Regions from separate parts of the Homo sapiens genome. Here region 2 is linked to region 1. The links are contacts of gene promoters, found by promoter capture Hi-C in blood cells and fetal thymus (Javierre and others, 2016). All regions are on one chromosome and are shown on one strand. Each heading gives the region's core, a stretch centred on a gene start or on the middle of the fragment in contact. The rest is flanking DNA. Distances are from core to core; before and after follow the strand shown.

Evidence for each region. Contacts are between HindIII fragments. The CHiCAGO score rates a contact against its expected background, and 5 or more counts as called.
Region 2: a contact is called between a fragment that was not itself captured here and the fragment with the promoter of ZNF691 in region 1, in 1 of 17 cell types (total CD8 T cells). The highest score is 5.9, in total CD8 T cells.

Annotation. Positions count from the first base shown.
Region 1 is chr1:42,843,956-42,849,611 of GRCh38, reverse strand. It overlaps ZNF691 (zinc finger protein 691), which reads right to left and starts at 2,999. Exons shown (of 4, transcript NM_001242739.2): 1 at 2,955-2,999; 2 at 199-321; 3 at 1-47. ZNF691-DT (ZNF691 divergent transcript) reads left to right here and starts at 3,198. Exons shown (of 5, transcript NR_186083.1): 1 at 3,198-3,355; 2 at 4,928-5,101. ERMAP (erythroblast membrane associated protein (Scianna blood group)) reads right to left here. Exons shown (of 12, transcript NM_001017922.2): 12 at 4,621-5,656. RefSeq lists enhancers at 2,963-3,032, 3,193-3,462. The HindIII fragment of the contact is 2,673 bases long and covers 470-3,142 here.
Region 2 is chr1:43,163,568-43,169,703 of GRCh38, reverse strand. It overlaps EBNA1BP2 (EBNA1 binding protein 2), which reads left to right. Exons shown (of 9, transcript NM_006824.3): 5 at 676-765; 6 at 2,469-2,544; 7 at 2,785-2,878; 8 at 4,899-5,061; 9 at 5,211-5,520. The coding sequence ends at 5,261. Among named protein-coding and RNA genes, the nearest start is that of MIR6733, 5.1 kb to the left of the region's middle. The HindIII fragment of the contact is 3,482 bases long and covers 1,141-4,622 here.

The DNA.
Region 1 (5,656 bases), core at 1,750-4,249:
TGATAGAAAATGAAAGACTGATAATTCCTTCAAGTCTGCAAGTATTTCTGGAAAAAAGAAACACAGAATAAAGAAAGGGGTACTGACTACATTTAGGGTTGGATTACAACTGTGACACATACTATCTTTATCGCTCTCTGCAAATTATTCAACCACTCTGAGCCTAAACTCCCTCTTCACTAAAATTGTGATACCTACCCACACTACAAGACTTTGTATTAGAAAAAAATGCCTGTAATACTCAGCAGAGTGTGTGACACATGCTGTCATTCAGCAAATGGCAGCTGCTGTTACAACTGTTGAAGACACTACGTCCAGGCCCTGTGAAGAATACAAGAAAAAGATCTTTTAAATGATCTCATTAAGAAAAAACTTTTAACTTAAAAATAGCATAAAACTGTATATAACCTTCTAAAATGTGAAATACAGACAGAACCTCAACTCTTTAAGAACCAGAGGTTGACAAGCTTTTTCTGTAAAGGGCCAGATAATATTTAGTAAATATTTATGGCCATGGGATATCTGCTGTAACTATTCAATTCTGCCACTGTATCATGAATCATGAAAGCAGCCATAGACAAGACATAAAGGAATGTGTGGCTGTGCTCTAATAAAACTTTATTTAAAGCAACAGGAGGTGAGCTGTGGTTTGCCAATCCCTGTTAGTGTTCCTTGAAGAATTTAGATAAGAATATGAAAAATAATTGGTTTGCTTTACTTCCAAAAATGCAAGTAAACATGAGAAACTATTCCTTGATACTTAGACACTGTTTCCTGACCATCCTTTAAAAAATTAAAATCACTCCCACACTCCCAGTCCTCCTGCCCCATAGCACATCTTACCTTCTGACATTCTCTTTATGTCTATTATTTATTGTCTGCTTCCCTAAAACATAAGTTCCATGAGAGCTGGTGTCTTTGTTGTTTTTTTGTTTTTTTTTTAATTTACCAATGTAACCAAAACTCCTAGAGTAGTGGCAGCCATATACAGTAGATCCTTCATAAGTATTTGTTGAATGAGTTGAATAAAACACCAGCTCTGTCTTCATGGGACACAAGTAACCATGAACTGTCTCACCCACTTTTCCTCAGCAATCTCCTGATTCCTGCCTACTTTCTCCTTTATGCAGTCACAGAATCTTGTGCTTGGCTTATAGTGGTTTGCAACTACTAGTAGAACATGTCTGTTTCTATTAGTAGTTTATAAGCAACTTGAGGAAAGGGACTGGGTCATATTAGTAATCTCCTTCTGCAGCATAAAGCTGGGTGCTCAAATGTCTTTTGAATGTATAAGTGACAGGATGTGATCTTAATTCACGCCACCATCCCATCCCCCACCCCCTGCCCTGCTCCCATCTGACCTACAGCTACAGTATCTCTACGCAATGAGCTATTCAGCCTCCACTCACTTCCGAAACTGCTATTCTGAGAACCTATAATTTACCAAGTTCCAGCTCTACCCGGGGCTGGATGCTAGGTCAATGTAAGAGCAAAAGGATTTAGGATTATGATTACCACTCAGTTTGTGATACAGTGTACTGAAACAGACCGTGAACTCCAGAAATTGTCATACAATGCAGAAGGTTAAGTTCAGGGGACAGGGGCAGGAACTGTGCCTTAGTCACCTTTGTACCCACTCCTCAGTGTCTAACACAGCACCTGGCACATTATTAACATTTTTTTAAAGCTCGAATCAAGTGCTAAGCTGTGGACTAAGGACCATATATGAATCATCTAATTTCACTTCACATCATCCTTATTTTAGAGATGAGAAAGCTGAGGCTCAGAGAAATTAAGTATCTTGCCCAAGGGCACACAGCAAGTAAGTGGCAGAACTGGGGCCTATGCCCATCACTTCAAAGTCAGTGCTTTTAACCATTATACTATTACTGAAGGAAAAAAGGAGAGAAGACGGGAAGGAAGGAAATAAAAACAGTACCACTGAAGTTCACATGATACAGATGTATCTCCCTGATGAAATCAGGGCTGAGAAGTTTCAAGGAGGAGTAGGTATTTGACCTAAGGTTTGCAGGATGGGTAAGACTGGGACTTGCAGAGATAAAGAGGCAACTACCTACTGAGAAGACAGTGCAGCTGAAGTACAGAGGCACTTTCATATCACACTGCAGAGATCTGGGGGGAAAAGGGGTCTATTGGGCTTTGTCTTCCTGGTGGCTCAGCTGCACAGAGAGAAGCAACGGTGGAAGGGGCTGAGAAGTGGAGGAGGGGCCAGGTCTAAGAAGTTAAGAGCCAAGAAGATGGGGCTAGTGATCACAGATGATGAAGGTGAAGCGCCTAGGTTAAAGGCAAGGGGCCAAGCCATAGTGCGGTATGGAGGTCCGAAGTTACAGGTCTTTGGGGCCAAGTCAAGGGCTGCAGGGAGGAAGAGGAGAGAGGAGCTATGAAAGACCAAGAGCAAGGTGCTAACAGGGTAATTGTACAGGGAAGCTAGATAACGGGTCAGAGATACAGGAGGACCAAGGAAGTCAGAGGGTCGCAGGAGACGGTCAGGGAAGAGGAAGCAAAGGCTGCCAGAAGTGTCACAGGCCAGGGCCCAAGAGCTGAGTTGTGTGTTGCGGGGCGGGGAGAAGCCAATGGCGGAGGTCCAAGGGTACAAGAGCTGGTTTCAGAGATTGCCGGCGGGCTTGGGGCCAGAGAGGTGGGAGAGGAGGAGGGGCTGATCCTAAACGTATGGTCAGCGGCAGGAAGGCTGTATACTCAAACCCAACAGAAGGGCCGGGGAATGGGTTGGGGACAGCCACCTGGCTGCGTGGGCCGGGGGCCAGGGCGAGGGTCGCGGCGGAGGGACCACAAGGCCCCTTGGCTTCCCACTCGGTCCAGGGAGCAAAGCAGCAGCATCCAGATCCTCGGTGAGAGGGAAGTGGCCGTGTACAGAGTTTCCCGCGAAGTCGTGTCCGCCTCCCCCCGCGACCTCGGGCCCAACCCGGACCCACCTCGCTCCCGCCGCTCGATCAGGGACAGCGCCGCCTCTGTAGGCGAGGGAAGGAGCTGGAGCCGGAGCCGGAACCCAGGAAGGATCCGCCCTACTACTCCAGGATTGGTTTCTTGGGATAATTCTTTATTTCCATTGGCTACCATGACTGCCACAACGCAAGCGACCTGGCAGGACCACCAATAAGCTTTGACCGCTGGCGTGGCATGCTGGGAGTTGTAGTCCTAAGGAAGCGCGTAGACTCAGAGAAAACTTGCGAAGTTTAGGATGGAGCTGAAGAGACTGGGTTCCGTCCTACGGTGGGATTTCTTTCCGTGCTCGCGCGTTCAGCCCCAAGTCTCAGGGCCACTCGTCTGGGAAGTTGTAGAATCTGTATAGCCAACCTACACAACCTCCAAGGGGGCAAGTACTCAAATTTCCTTCTTTACTTTGAGTTGGTAATCCTTGACCGTCCTGTAGACGTCCAACGAAGCCTAGAGTCTGGCACCTCACTCAAGGTTTATAACTTAAAATCAAAGGAGGGTAGAGCTGGAAGGGAGTTTAAAGATAAAATAACCCAATCTCCTTATCGGAGAAGCTAAAAGTACCCTGTTCAAGGATCAACCTCCAGGTCTTCCAGCCCCCCTGAGCAGGGATTTTCCCGGGTTCCGCGTGCATCCCTAATTAAGCCTGACACGTGTTCGTCAATCCAGACACAACAAGATCACCAAAGTATCCAGGACTAGGTCTTTTTTTTCAGGTTTTATTTTTTAAAATAATAAAAGGCTAATGAAATACGTAAACTACAGGCTTCTCGTATCTGCACAATGTTTCAGTGCAAAGAACAAGGAGCATTGCCTTCAGAGCTAGATAAACCAAGTATAAAACTCTGGCTCTACCACCTAGCCATTTGGAGTACCAACTCCCTCCCCCATAAAATCCCTGGCAGAATTACTGTGAGGATATTATATATACATACATATATTCTCATGCATGTGTATGTGTATACATATATACATATATATGTATGTATGTTTTATATAGTTGTAAGGTTATAATACATACATATATTGAGGTTATTTCTTGATGACATTAATATTCAAATCAGTAGACTGATATGTATGTACATATATACATGTATAATACACATACATGTGTATATACATATACTAATGTATACATGTGTATATACATGCATACATGTGTGAATATGTATTATACATACATATGTATATATGTGTATACATATACACGTGCATACATGCTAAATACATATACATATATATACACCTATGTAGTACAGATATGTATATACACATACATGTATACATGTGTATATGTGTATGTATGCATATGTGTGTGTATATTATATGTATATTCATGTATGTATGTGTATATGTATGCATGTATTCTGCCTCCACAAGCTGACAATGTGAGTTAGTTTTAAGATTGGGATATTCAGGAATGCATGTTTGGAACTGAATATGGTTGAGTGAAATATGTGTGCCTTATGAACACTATTTGTTTATAAATTGATAAAATAAAATACTAGAGAGCAGACTCAGGAATAAAACTATGGCTTTAGTATGAACGGTGGCTAAACCTTGCCTTGGGGGACTCAAAGCTCTTTGGAAACCAATCTCTTACCTTCCCCACAACTCCTCATTCACAATGAAAATAACAGCATACCAAAACACAAATACCAAACTTTTATTTTAAAACTGTACAAAAGCAAACAAAAAATTCCACTGAGTCACTGTGATAGTTAATCTTATGTATCCACTTAACTGGGTCACAAGATGCCCAGCTATTTGGTCAAACATTATTCTGAGTGTTCCTGTGAGGGTGTTTCTCAATGACATTAACATTCAAATCAGTAGACTGAGTAATGCAGACTGTCCTCCCAAATGTGGGCGGGCCTTGCTGAATCAGTTGAAGGCCTGAATAGAACAAAAGAGCTAACTCTGCCCTAAGAGAATTCTTCCTGCCTAATAGCCTTTGGACAGGACCATCAGCTTTTTCCTTGCCTTCGGACTTGAATTAAACATCATCTCTTCCTTGGCGTCAAGCCTGCTGCCATCAGACTGGAACTAAACCATCAGCTCTCATGGGACTCCATCTTGCTGACTTATCCTGCAGATCTTGGGATTTAACCGCCTCCATAATCACGTGAGCCAATTCCTTATAATAACCACCGCCCCCCTGCCCCAATATATATTGATTCTGTTTCTCTGGAAAACCTTGACTAATACAGGAACTAACGGAGAACTTCTGACAAACAGAAAGATACAGTTTCTGTTGGATAGAACTGTGTATTCATCTGCAAACTGATAACCAATATCTCCATGGTTAGGCCAGATCGCATATATGATGTGACTTGAAAGCGACGAGGCTTCTGCAATACACACCCAAAAATCAAGGTCATTATTTCATCCTCACACCTAGTCTACCAACTTCCTATTTGAAATCAATACTCTCCAACCTAAGAGGCTGTTTGCTACACAAATACTCAAGTATTGCAGTACAATGGTCTTGTGGGGAAAAAAAAGCTTCTACGTTGGTGGTTAAAACTGCCACTTTTTCTAGCTGGACCTCTCTGAATCTCAGAAAGGGTTGGCACAACAGATTGATTCATAAGACAGTCACAACAGACTCAACAGACTGAGCCTCTGAAGGTCTGGGCCAAGGTCAGAGGGCAACATACAGCTGAGTTCTCTGCAACTG
Region 2 (6,136 bases), core at 1,632-4,131, 320 kb before region 1:
TTAAAGGATACTGGAGGCGAGTGTAGGTTATATGCAAATGCTGCACCATTTTTATATAAAGGACTTGAGCATCTGTGGATTTTGATATCTGTAGTGGGTCCTAGAACTAATCCTCTATGGATACTGAGGGATAAGTATATTTAAATAGTACCCTGGGGTCTCAAGCTGGATTTTAGGGAGCTTTTGTCGTGGTAGTAGTTCACCTTCTTACTGTGAACTCTGTACAAATTCTCACTGACAACTTCTCATCCTTTAACTAAAATGTGTATGTTTGACTGAAAAGGCTAGGCACCTGGTATCTGCCTGGGTTTTTATTGTGTATGTGGTATACTAGAAAAGGACACTGAGGCCGCATACTGGTTTCCAGCCTCAGTCTACTGACAGTAGAAATGGGGAGAAGTTTGTCTTCTTTCCTGGGCTACAAATAGGCAGTTTGTATAATGAAACAGACAGCACACTGGGAGCGGGAAGGTGACTTTCAATCTCTGGCTTCACTCTGGCACTTTTGGTAAAGTGCTCAGCCTGTGGGCCCCATTGTCCTCAGGGGTTGGAACTGATGATTTATAAGTTCCGCAGTTTAAAGAACAGGGAATATCTGTTCCCTGCTCTAGCGAATCCTAAGTAGTGGTCATTCCAGATTCAAATGACATGAACTGACAGCATTTTGTGTTGTAGATTCGACAGAAGCTGCAGACTAAACAGGCTGCCATGGAGAGGTCTGAAAAAGCTAAGCAACTGCGAGCACTTAGGAAATACGGGAAGAAGGTGAGAAGAAAAGTGTGCAGGGAACAGGAAGAGGCGGAGTGTGTGTTAGATGAGATTGCCGTGGTCTGACTTGGTCCCCTGAACTGAACGGAACTGTGTGTTGATCATGTATTTACCGTCTCTCAGTGTATGTGCTGGTATTCATGAGCACAATCTTGCCTGGACATGAGTGGTTCCCCAGGAGTAGTATGGTGACTGCAGGTGAGCCAATCACCTCTCTGGGCGTTAGTTTTCACATCTGTACACTGGGTCCAGATGAGTGGTTTCCAAACCTGACCTTATAGCAAAATCACCAGGGGAAATTTTTCAAAACAGAATTCTAGACTTCAGAATCCCCAGGAATCTGTGCCTGTTTTCCCCTCTTCCCCAAAAGCTTTCCAGGTGATTCTGAAATGCATCCTGGTTTGGGATTCACTGATCTATGTGATAATCACGTACCTGAAGAAATTATCATAATGATTGTCATCCAATCTGAAAGATTGCCTGCGTGTTTGAACTATGAATGTCTGAGTTCTAATGTAACACCAGATCAGGCATACCCTAAAACTTTTCTTGGTTTTCCTTTTTTATTTCATGGTCATCTAAGAAAGAAGATGACAGATTTTAAAGTTAGGATTGTGGGAAGAAATGAATGTGAGGAAGATTGGTGTGGGTGTTAAGACTTCGTCAACATTTGGACATAAGCACTTGTGATCTGGGCTGCAGAACTCTTGTCCACGTTTGGAGTCATTTCACTGATACATTCTCAGCAAAGTAGGAATAGGCTGGGATCCTGTCCTCTACAAAAGGCCTGCTGCGGATTTATTATTTCTTTGATCTGGAGGTGGATGGCTGAGATTCTCTCAAAGACACCAGTAATTAATTTAACATAGCCAAAGTTACCAAAAGCAAAGACAAACTCACTTGGGCCTATTAGTTCACTGTTCCTAATTTAAGGAAACACTGGGGAAGAGTTTGTTAACTGGGGGTGAATTTGCTCCCCAAGAGTTTTCTGTGACTGCCTGGAGATATTTTTAGTTGTCAAATTTGGGAGGGAGGGTACTACTGGCATCTAGTAGGTAGAGGGCAGGGGTGCCGCTAAATATCCTACAGTGTAGGACAGGCCCCTACCCCCCAGCAAAGAATTATTCTCTCCACACTGTAGCAGTATCAAGATTGAGAAACCCTCTGTTAGAGTATTATAAAGTGTCTCCTTTTATCCTTCAAACTTTTTTCTTTTCTTTACCTGGGGACATTGTTTTTTTCTCTTCCTTTTGGTACTTTCATGCCTAGTAACAGTGAGTTAGATAATTAATCTGTCCAAATGTGATGCGAAAAATCGATGTAGTCTTAAACATGATTTACTTCAGTTTTGTAGGCAGGATTGTATAATAGGGTGAGTGCTGGCTTTGGAGTCAAACAGCCTGGGTCATCTTGGCTGTGCATTTTTTCACTGTGCGACTTGGGCAAGTTAACTTCCCTGTGCTTCAGTTTAGGGGATAACACAAATTTCAACTTCACTGGATTGTTATGAGACAGATATATCTTCATCTATGAAGAATATACCTAGATCTGAGAATATACTTAGAGTCCCTAACACAGTTTTTGGCACGTAGTAAATGTCAGAGGGTAGTGGTATTAATCATGGTGTTGCTATTAAGACAATGTAGACACTGGAGTAATGGTATGGAATGGCTGTAACGGTCCTTGTGTTCATATCACAGGTGCAAACGGAGGTTCTTCAGAAGAGGCAGCAGGAGAAAGCCCATATGATGAATGCTATTAAGAAATATCAGAAAGGTTGGTACATCTCTAATAGGGGAACGAGGGTAGCAGGTACTTTAGAGTTGATTTGAACACTTAGTGCTTTGGAGCCTTCTTGGTTGATGTGGACCTGTCGGATCAAAGTTTTGGGAATGGTGTTGGAGAGCAGGATGTGACTCTTAAAATCAGTGTAGCAAATAACAGCCTCATATGGTGGTTTAAACTTTTATTCTTAAAATACAATGGTGCTGATCAAAACTACTTCTTCACTTACAGGCTTCTCTGATAAACTGGATTTCCTTGAGGGAGATCAGAAACCTCTGGCACAGCGCAAGAAGGCAGGAGCCAAAGGCCAGCAGATGAGGAAGGGGTGAGAAGGGTTTTGGCATGGTTTCTTTGGTTCTGTGAGGTGCGATGGGGCCACAGGTCACGAGTATGGCAGACATAGCACCTCCACCGGCGCAGCCATAGAGTCCAGAGAGTGCAGCTGCTGCCTGGGGCCAGGACCCCTATGACTGTGTGATGGGCCCTTTTAGCCATGTCAGTCTTTGAAGAGTAAAAGAAGGCACTTTTTAAACTTCTTTTTTTTTTGGACAGTCTCATTCTGTCACTCAGGCTACAGTGCACTGGTACAGTCTTGGCTCACTGCAACCTCTGCCACCTGGGCTCAAGTAATTCTGTGCCTCAGCCTCCTGAGTAGCTGGAACTACAGGTGCCTGCCATCACACCCAGCTAATTTTTGTATTTGTAGTAGAGACAGGGTTTCACCATGTTGGCCAGGCTGGTTGTGAACTCCTGGCCTCAAGTGATTCACTCACCTCAGCCTCCCAAAGTGCTGGGATTATAGGTGTGAACCACTGCACCCATCCTAAGAAGGTACTTTTAAGTATGTGGCACCCTTTAAGTGAATGCTGAGTAAAGTTGATTCCCCATCACACAGTGCGATGGTTGAGAGTTCAGACCTAGGGTTCAGATCCCGACTCTACCACTCAGTAGGAGGGCAGTTTTGAACGAGTTACCATGCCTTTCTAAATGCTAATTGCCTCATCTGCTAAGTTGAGGAAATAGTGTCTGCCTCATAGTATGAAGACTGAAAGAGAGAATGTGGGCTCTCATTGTTTTTTCTAGTCTGCTTTTTTGCATACCTGGATACCAGGCCTAGGGGAAATGATAATTTCCATGTAAGATAGTAAGTGCTATGATAGAGGCATTTGGGGATTAGTACTGAGTCAGCTTTTATAAATACCTGACAGGGTCTGGGGTGGATTTCTGGAGGAGCGTTCGACTTGAGCATTGCTTGAAGCATGAGTAGGAATTAACCACGAGAATAGAAGAGAAGCTGGGTTTGGGAAGAAGTAAGAGCTTGAACGAGCAAAGCCATCGAGATGTGAAACCTCAGGGTTTTGTGAGGAACAGTAAGCCCTTGGTGTCACTGGGAATACAGTGCAAAGCAAGGAGGGGTGCAATGTGTTTGGGGGGACCTGGGCTGTGGGTTTGCCTTGTTGAGGAGCTTGGGCTTTGTCAGAAGGCAGTGGAGAGACTAGGTTGTAGGTTGTACTAACAGTAATGAGCAGGTTATATTCATGTTTTTAAAAAGATCACAGTGGATTTTGTATAAGTGACAGACTTGAGGGAAGCTGGGAAATTGACAAGGGTACTATTGCAAAAGTCGAGATAAGGATTGAAGAAACATTTAAGAGGTGAAATGAGCAGGACTCAGTAATTGAATTGGGTATAAAGAGTGAGAGAAGAACCAAGGCTGACTCCCACATGTTTAGCCTGTGTGTCTGGGTTGGTGGGAGCAGCGCCAGCCTCAAGTGAGGGCATATGTACAGGAAGCAGAGCCAGTCCAGGAGATGATGTGAATTTGGAGATGCTGAATTCAAGATTCCTATTGGATGACCAGTTTTACATTTGAATGTTATTCCATTTGAATGTTATTTGAATGCCTATAATTACATTTGAATGTTTACATTTGAACGTATTCATTACATTACATTTGAATGTTACAAATGTAACATATTACATTTGGATGTTAACTGCATGTATTTACCCTTGAGAGGAATAGACACAACTGAGGGTGATTTAATAAGATTTGGTTAAAATAGAAAGCTTTCTAAAGACAGCAGGAAGCCATGTAATATATGTAGAGCCTTCCCTGCTTCTTGCTTTATTTTCCTGCCCTGGTGGTCAAAACTGTAAATAGGTGAGCTAGATGAGTTTGTCTAGAGAGGCTGTAGCATAGGATTGTGGGGCCAAGGATGAGATTCTGGGTTACAGACGTGCCTAAGGGGCTTTGCTTATAGAAAGGAAACTGAGAGCATTGCTGGGCCATCAGGTTCATCAGGCTTTACAGTGCTGTAGTGATGTCTAGGACCATTCTTTTCCAGGCCCAGTGCTAAACGACGGTATAAAAACCAGAAGTTTGGTTTTGGTGGAAAGAAGAAAGGCTCAAAGTGGAACACTCGGGAGAGCTATGATGATGTATCTAGCTTCCGGGCCAAGACAGCTCATGGCAGAGGCCTCAAGAGGCCTGGCAAGAAAGGGTCAAATGTAAGTGAGCCCAGGTGCCCGGGTGAGGAGCAGGCTCAGCCTCCCCTCCCACTCCCAACCCTGCCCTCTCCCTTCAGTTCTGTTCGTCCTCACCCTGGGGCAGAAGGCAAGCTGCTATGTGACCAGATGTGGTATGTCTTTTTCTGTAGAAGAGACCTGGAAAACGAACAAGAGAGAAGATGAAGAACAGAACACACTAAATAGCATCTTTGAATACAAAGAACCAAGAAAAAGGAATGAAGACTCGCAATTTCACGACACACTTTGATCCCTTCTGTTGGTGTCATGTTGTAAACATTTCTTTCAATAAACTAAAGAAAAATTATTAAAGGAACACATACCTTTGGTTAAATAGTCTAGACTAAAAGATTGAGAAGTTACTTTCCATTGCTATCTATTGATAATTTAGACATTGAGTTCAAATTGCCTTCATTTTATGATAAATAATGATTTAACTGACACCTTCTCATTTCCTTTGTCTCATCCTTCTAAATAGTTATATTACGATCAATCCCTGTAAAGCTCAATGCCCATATTTTACAGGTGTGAGCCACCGTGATTTTCTTTGTGGTACAGCTTTTGGTTTTTCCTCCAGTTAACCTTCACCTTACATTCTTCTGCTTGCCTAATTTTCCTTCTATATTCTTAGTTCTTTCCAGATGCTTTGTCATTTTACCCACTTTATAATTTTTCTCCTACAACCTAGTTATGCCACACAACTGTCACCTTTTTTCTAGACCGTTTAAGTTGGCACCATTATTTCCAGAATCCCATGTTTTCCCATCTTAGCATATGCCTTCTTTTGCTGTGTACCATTTTTTGGTATCTTACTAAGAAAGGGAAGATGAGAGGTAAACTTTTTATCTCCTTGCATTTCTGAAATTGCCTTTAATTTGGGCTGATAGGAATTTCCTCCTTAGAATTTTAGAATTTCGCAGGCACTGTTTTTAAGTTTTATTTCAGTTCTACTTTTGGGGGGAGATATATTTTTGTTTTTTAAAATCTTTTTTTTTTTTTTTTTTTTTTTTTGAGACACAGTCTCACTCCATCGCCCAGGCTGGAGTGCAGTGATACA